2 separate regions of the Homo sapiens genome follow, and region 2 is linked to region 1. Evidence: promoter capture Hi-C in 16 types of primary human blood cells and fetal thymus (Javierre and others, 2016). All regions are on one chromosome and are shown on one strand. The core of a region is centred on a gene start or on the middle of the fragment in contact, and the rest is flanking DNA. Distances in the headings are between cores, read along the strand shown.

Region 1 (4,103 bases), core at 250-2,749:
TCAATGTGAGTGGACGGTGGAGCCAGGACTGTAGCCCAGGTCTTTCGGGTCATGCTGTGTGCTCTTCCACTTCCCTGCCTCACTGCACAAATGCGCTCCCCACGCCCACGGACGCCCCAGGGGCGCCAGGCGCTGCTCTAGGCTGAGACTCAGCCGACTCAGACAAGGGCCCTGCCCTCTCGCCCTATCTCATCCTGGAGAAGAGTACCCTCTTCTTAGAACAAGCATCTCACTTCCGTGCACTTCAACTTCGTTTGTGGCAGTGCAGGGTACTTTGCAAAGCTAAAAAGTAGTTTATGCGAAAGGGAGACTCTTTTTCCTTAGAGGATTTGCCAAGTTGTAATCACAAATTCTTTTTGAGATACACGTACATTTTTTTAAAGCTAAATAAGATTTCCCCCCAGTTTTATAACTCAAGAATGTATTTTCTCAAGGACTTGGGAGTCATCTCTTTGAAATGTCATCCCCGTCTCCCAGTTTTGTGGGAGGGTAGGAGCCCAGCTACCAGAGAGCACCTGGCTTCAAATTGTAAACCTACCTCCTGTCATAAAGGTATGAAAATTCATTTTTCCTTTGGATAAAGGCAATTAGCAAACGCAAATGGCCACTGCATTTACCAATGGCCACTCCATCATCAGGCGAATTTAGGATGAACTCTGCGACAAATGGTGTAGTGGAGTCCCCTCCCCGGAGGGCTGTCTCGTTTACCTCGGGAGCATGCGTGGGGTAGGTTGCATCCTCCCGGCTGTTTGATACAGGCTGAGATTTCTGTCTTTGCAGCCTATTTGGCGGATTGCTTGTGATGCACATCACATGCTGGTTTTGTTTTGTTTTGTTTTGTTTTGTTTTGTTTTGTTTGAGACGGAGTCTCGCTCTGTTGCCCAGGCTGGAGTGCAGTGGCGGGATCTCGGCTCACTGCAAGCTCCGCCTCCCGGGTTCACGCCATTCTCCTGCCTCAGCCTCCCGAGCAGCTGGTACTACAGGCGCCCGCCACCACGCCCGGCTAATTTTTTGTATTTTTAGTAGAGACGGGGTTTCACCGTGTTAGCCAGGATGGTCTTGATCTCCTGACCTCGTGATCCGCCCGCCTCGGCCTCCCAAAGTGCTGGGATTACAGGCGTGAGCCACCGCGCCCGGCCTCACATGCTGGTTTAATGTTTGTTCAAGACCCAAACTGCAGTGGAGTTTTGAGGGTTGGCAGGTTTGTTTTTCATCACACGTCCCCGACAGTACAAACCGGCGTAGCTGGACAGGGCCTTGGGAGAATTTGGACAGTGGGAGTAAGGACGAGCGTCGCCTCCTACGCCCGCGGCATCTGCAGCAAGCGCGCATCGCGCACCCCAGGGTAGCAGCGCAGGTCTGGGGCTGCGCCACAGCCGCGCCCGCAGAGCTATTTTTAGCCGCTGCAGCCAGCCTAGCCACCAGACGGGGTGGGCGGCATCCAAGGGCGCCCCGCCCATCGAGGCCCCGCCCACGCCGCGCCCGGAGCCGCGCGGCCCGAAGCACCCGGCCCGGATCGCAGAGCCCGCGCCCTGCGCCGGCGGCAATGAAGATCTGGAGCTCGGAGCACGTGTTTGGGTGAGGCCGGGCTGAGGGCCGCGGTGGGGCCGTCCAGACGCCGGCTCCTGCTCCCGAGCCCGGCTGGAGCGGTCCAGGAAAGGCCGGACCTCACAGCGGGCCTCGCGGAGATCCCCGCCCCGCGCCGGCCGTTCCCAGACCGCAACTTCGGCGTCCCGGAGAGGGCACGCGCGCTTCCCCGGGACCGCGGTCTGGGCGAGGCTCTGCGCCGGGTACGGCCTCTCCCCCGGCGTGCGCAGGGGCCTGGCTGCAGGCACAGAGGCCCCGCTGGTGGTCGACAGCCAGGGCGGGGGCAGCCGGAGCGGGGGCGGCCGGGGCGGGGGCGGCCGGAGCCGGGGGGGCGGCCGGGGGCCTGGCGCTCGCTGCTCTCCTTGGGGTCGGGAGCAGGGCAGGGGAGAGGCCTGCAAGCTGGCGCCTTTGCTGAGATTGTCATAAACCTTCCGCGCGTTTCACGGAGGGCCCACGGCGGGCTGTGAGCTCTGGAGGAAGCTAAAGGGGCAGAAGGCATTTCGGGGGCCCTGGCTCTGAACTCACTTGTAGGCATGGAAGGCCTCCAAGCTAGCGTGGAAAACCTCGAACTGTTTAAAAATGCTCCCCCGGCACACGGATGGAAGTGGAGGTCATTATCTTAAGTGAAGCCAGGCCCAGAAAGACAAGTATCGCATGTTCCCACTCCTAAGTGGGTGCTTAAGAATGTGTTCACATGGATGTGGAGAGTGGAACGTCAGATGATGGAGACTCTGAAGGGTGAGGGGGTGGGTGCAGGGAGGATAATGAGAATTGCTTAATGGGTGCAAGACACCTTCCCGGGTAATGCATACCCTAGAAGTCCTGACTTGACCACTACGAAATTTATGCATGTAACGAAATTGCACATATACTCCATAGAATTGTGCAAATAAAAAGAAGAAAAAAGTGCCCTCCTAACCTAAGTGGTATCTTTTCCTTAAGTCAGTGATCTGTGACACACTGAAATTATTCTTTAATGTTTATTTACAGCAACAAAGATTTTTTAATTATCTGACCTCACTTAAGCATTAAATATTTTATTTTGGGGGGAAAAAAAGTACTGCGTGGAAGGAAATTGTCATCCTTTGACTCTTTTTATTTATTTTTTTCGAGACAGAGTCTCATTCTGTCACCCAGGCTGGGTTTTTTTTTTTTTTTTTTTTTTTTTGAGACATAGGCTCGCTGGGTCACCCAGGTTGGAGTGCAATGGCGCGATCTTGGCTCACTGTAACCTCCCCCTCCTGGGTTCAAGTGATTCTCGTGCCTCAGCCTCCTGAGTAGCTGGGACTACAGGTGTGGGCCATCACGCCCGGCTAATTTTTGTATTTTTAGTAGAAACAGGGTTTCGCCATGTTGGCCAGGCTGGTCTCGAGCTCCTGACCTCAGGTGATCCACCCGCCTCGGCCTCCCAAAGTGCTGGGATTATAGGTGTGAGCCACCGTGACTGGCCTGACTTTAAACATGTAAAATTATAATAAAAATATATCAAGTGGTTTCAAAACCTCTGAAATTATTTTTCATGAAGTCTTTAGACTTGATGGGATCTAATTTTTTGTATGGCTTGCAGTGTTTCTCAAGTGGGTTTCCATCAGCAACAAGGATGGGGGCATCACTGAGCCGTCTGGATGCTGTGGACAGTTAAGTCATTGCATACCAGGAGTGCCAGGTGGTTGGGGCTCAGTTTTCTCATGGAATGGCCGAGGTCTGCCCTAGAGGTTTGTGAAATGTCTGTGGACAAGCACAAATGAATAGCTAGCTGTGAAAAATCACAGTTGATGCTTTTGAAAATTGTTGCAGCTGCTAACTCCCATTTATTTTTTTTAAGCTTTACCGAAGGATACTTTACATACCATAAAATTATACACATTTTAAGTGTATAATTCATTAAGTTTTGCTAAGTATGACCATCACACACACAGTCCAGTCTTAGAACACTTCTGTCCTCCTGCAGAGGTGCCCCATGCTCATTAGCTTCACATTTTACCCCATTTTCACCCCTGCCCCAGGCAACCAGGAATCTTTTCTGTTTCTATGAATTTGCCTTGTTGGGACATTGCATGTAAATGTCATCCTGCAATATGGGGTGTTTTGTGTCTGTCTGCTTTCACTTAGCATGATTTTCTTGAGGCTCACCATGTGGTAGAGTGTCAGTATTTCATTTCTCCCATCATTCATTTTGTATTCCTGGCACCCCGCCGGGGCCCGGCGCCTAGCAGGTGCTCGGAAGGGGTGAGGAATCTTACATGGAGATCAGATGTCCTTCCAGGACAGGGGCAGCTATCCACCAAAGGAATCCCGGTCATCCCTGGAGCTGCTGTGGACTAGGTGCTGATTCTCTGCCATAGACTTTTGAACTTGAAAGCAAAGGGCCGTAATGAAGCCTGACAAATGTGGAATGTGGCTGGCCGAGGATGCTGTCATTGGCCTGTGGCTGGACGGGTTATGAATGATGTGGTACCATGAGGTGGTACCATGAGGTGTCATAGCATCCAAATGACAGTACAAATTGGAAGTCT
Region 2 (3,789 bases), core at 303-2,802, 120 kb after region 1:
AAAACAACTACAGACCATGATGGCTGCTAAAAGGGAGATAATAGGGCAACGCGATTAAAATGAAAACAGCAGGCTGGGCACAGTGGCTCACGCCTGTAATCCCAGCACTTTGGGAGGCCGAGGCGGGCGGACCACGAGGTCAGGAGATCAAGACCATCCTGGCTAACATGGTGAAACCCCGTCTCTACTAAAAATACAAAAAATTAGCCGGACGTGGTGGCGGGCGCCTGTAGTCCCAGCTACTCTGGAGGCTGAAGCAGGAGAATGGTGTGAACCCGGGAGGTGGAACTTGCAGTGAGCTGATATTGCGCCACTGCACTCCAGCTTAGACGACAGAGCAAGACTCCGTCTCAAAAAAAAAAAAAAGGGCAGTATGTGCTGAATATATAAAGGTGTCTGGGGTGGCCTGAGGAGATGTCCTTTCAGCTGAGGTATGAAGGGTGTGAGTGAAAAAATCATACTTGAAAGGGTCAAGGAAGACAACACTTATAAGAAGCGTTTAATATGTCAAGAAACTAAGCACCGCAGGTACAGCCACACTTGAGAAGAGTGCAAAGATCATTATAATCAGATAATCAGAAATGACAACCCACACCTGTAGAGCCTACTGCTGAAGAAATCCAAGATGAGTTAACTGTATTAGACATCTTATCTCTCAAAGATCAAAATGTTTGAAATATTCTACCTTAATTTGGGTGATGTTTATGTGTATGAATGACACAAGAAAGTGCAAGAGGAAGAGAAAATTTTCATCACTTTGAGTACATAATCTAGAGAACAGAGATTAGGACATTAAAAACCTATTTTACATGCCTTATAAAGTTCTTGCTGCAATATCATGAACACATGCTATACAATGCACAATTATTTTCACTGTTCATTCACTGATGACTAATGTTACTGTATTACGAATTTATTCTGTACAAGGATTTTCTACCAGTAGATTGTGAAAATAATTTTATTTTTAGCCTATACTGACATCAATATAGTAGTAATGTCAGTATTGAATGTTACAGCTAGCTTACCAATTTTAAAAAGTTAAATCTGTGTTTTTAAAAGGCCTACAGCATCCTCAATTTTGATTAATTTATCTACAGCATTGAACTGCTTTTCTGTAAAATCTATCTCAAATTTAAGATATAAAATAAAATAGTATACAATAATTTCATAGAAAATTCTACCAGGAATGCACTTACTTATCTATATACACTTTGCCTACAACGTAAGACTAATAACAAAAATGAGGAAAAGCTTGTTGAATAAATAGAACAAAAAATTTAGTCACGCAAATTTTATTTTCTGCATAAAATTTTAAGACTAGACGGAAGCTTAACATGTCTTGCCTCCTCCCCGATTTTTATGTTTTTAGAGACAGGGTCTCACTCTATTACCAAGGCTGGATGGAGCACAGTGGTGAGATCATAGTTCACTGCAGCCTTAAACTCCCGGGCTCAAAAGATCTTCCTGTCTCCGCCTCCCAAGCAGCTAGGATTCCAGGATTCTATGATCTTGCTATGCTTCTCAGGCTGGTCTCAAAACACCTGGTCTCGGCCTCTCAAAGTGCTGGGATTACAGAAGTGAGCCACTGAGCGCCAGGCCTTCCTCCCCATTTTTAAAGATGAGTAAACAGAAGTCTTGCAAATGCTATTTGATTTTAAGAAGTTACATGAATAATGAATGGTATGATTCACCAATAAAGGGGCTTTTACAAAGGTCAGTGGTAATATAAATATTTCAAATTATGAAATAAATAAAAAATGAGTTATTTGCTTTAAAGAAAGCTTTCAAAAAATTCTTTTAAAACAGTGTACTCTTATGATACATCAAGTTTCTACTATAATATCATTATACCCCTACTATGAAACAGTGTATTACTGGAGAATTTGGTGAGCATACTGCACACTCTCAACGTGGAGGCAATGATGGCTAGAGCATGCTAGGAACGTATCAGAAAAAAATCAACTGACTTTCTAGTCTTAAAATTATTTTATCTCAGTCTTTGACACTTCTATGATACTCTATCTTTTCTCATTTCACATCTCCCTCTTTATTTATTTGTTTATTTTATAGATAGGGTCTTGCCTTGTTGGCCAGGCTGGTCTTGAACTCCTGGCTTCAAGTGATCCTCCTGCCTTGGGCTCCCAGAGTGCTGTGATTACAGGCATGAGCCACTGTGCCTGGCCTCCCTCTTATTTCATACCTCAACTTTACATGGTACCCCCCCATCCCATTTATGTGCATATGCAGGACCATCATCCCCTAACACCAGCATGTGCATGCCCACACATTCTCTCATAAACTCTCTTCTCTCCAAAGCCAAATCTTAGTCTTTCTGACTCACATATTCTCTCTCCAGAACTGCTCAGAAACCTACATCAAAGTATCTACCTCCATTTTCTTCAGAACTCTCTCTTTAGTTTCATCTAATAATGCATTTTATGTGACACTCTTAGAGGAAAATAGCAATAACTTCTATGTAGTGGAACACCTTTGCCGGACTGAAGGGTATGATGAGGATGAAAATGCTGTTATCAGCAGCACTGAGAACTTACTTCTATGTGAATCTCTAATCTCTCTAAGCCTCAGTTTACTAATTTGCAAAGAGTCACAGGATTGTTACAAGGATCAAATGGAGTAAGGAAGAGAAGGCATTTTATAAAGGAGCTGTATGAATATGACAGTAAAGTAGCAGGGGTTAAAGTTTTAGGTAATGATAAATAATTTTATTTAACAATAACAAAACTGGGGACTGATGATCAAAAAATTACCTGGACCACAATAGATTAAAGGATACTACCATTAATATAATTTCATTTTCTCCAATAAAAAATTTTACAATTGAAACTGCCCCCTCTGCACAGCACAGGCTCACCAGCTACCCCTGCAGTATGGCTCTGGAATATGGTGGTGTCACTGGCAGCAGGGCAGGGTGGCTCTTCTTTCATACAACCTGATGCACTCGATGGATTGCTTAGACAGTGCCTCCAGCTATACTTAACTTACAAGGATATCAAATTTCTTAGGAGACACAGTAATGTGTACTTATTTTCAAGGATATCACATTGCTTAAGAGACAAAGTAACAGCAGGCCTACCCAAATCTTTATCATTAAAAGAATGACCTTAAAGGAGTTCATTGGTTGTTTAAGAAGAAAATCATCACATCATGAAAGGGATTAGAATATAAACAAATTTGCTTTCTAAATAAATAGATGATGAACCAGATACTGTGCTTTATAAAGTAGCCAGGTTCAGTAAATGCACTTAACACTTTACAGAACAAGTATAACATTGGAAAACAGATGGTAGATTTTATATTTTAATAAATTGCCAATTTGCCATATAAGAAATTTAGTATAATTAAAGTACTTTTGGACTATCAAATCAGACACATTATCAGTAACTGAGCTCAAGTGTTCTGACACTATGCTTCCACCCCAATTTATATGCATTCATGCACACACATATACACAGATATAAGGTAGTTTGAAAAATTGTTGATACTCAATTTTTAATTTCGTTGAATCAGTCTATTGTTTCAAAAATTCCACTTGGTACACACTAACTCATAGGTATAAAGAATGATTCTTAAAATATATTAAGTATTTTGGGATCTTCCGAAAAAAGTCAAATTAACAAATAGTATTTATTAGTGTGAAAACAGTATTTTTGAGAAAAGGCTGAAACCATTTACATACATAAACTAACATGTATAAAAATGTTCTATCATTTCAAGAAAACCTTATACATTGCAGAGGTGAAAGAAACTTACATTCCTGAAACCTGAGTG

What was found. Contacts are between HindIII fragments. The CHiCAGO score rates a contact against its expected background, and 5 or more counts as called.
Region 2: a contact is called between a fragment that was not itself captured here and the fragment with the promoter of PRELID3A in region 1, in 4 of 17 cell types (erythroblasts, endothelial precursors, megakaryocytes and 1 more). The highest score is 7.2, in erythroblasts.

Annotation. Positions count from the first base shown.
Region 1 is chr18:12,406,430-12,410,532 of GRCh38, forward strand. It overlaps PRELID3A (PRELI domain containing 3A), which reads left to right and starts at 1,500. Exons shown (of 7, transcript NM_001142405.2): 1 at 1,500-1,578. The coding sequence starts at 1,547. RefSeq lists enhancers at 899-1,560, 1,561-2,220, 2,078-2,327 and a silencer at 1,298-1,877. The HindIII fragment of the contact is 9,540 bases long and covers 1-3,410 here.
Region 2 is chr18:12,529,017-12,532,805 of GRCh38, forward strand. The region is part of intron 4 of SPIRE1 (spire type actin nucleation factor 1); the gene reads right to left. Among named protein-coding and RNA genes, the nearest start is that of PRELID3A, 120 kb to the left of the region's middle. The HindIII fragment of the contact is 453 bases long and covers 1,327-1,779 here.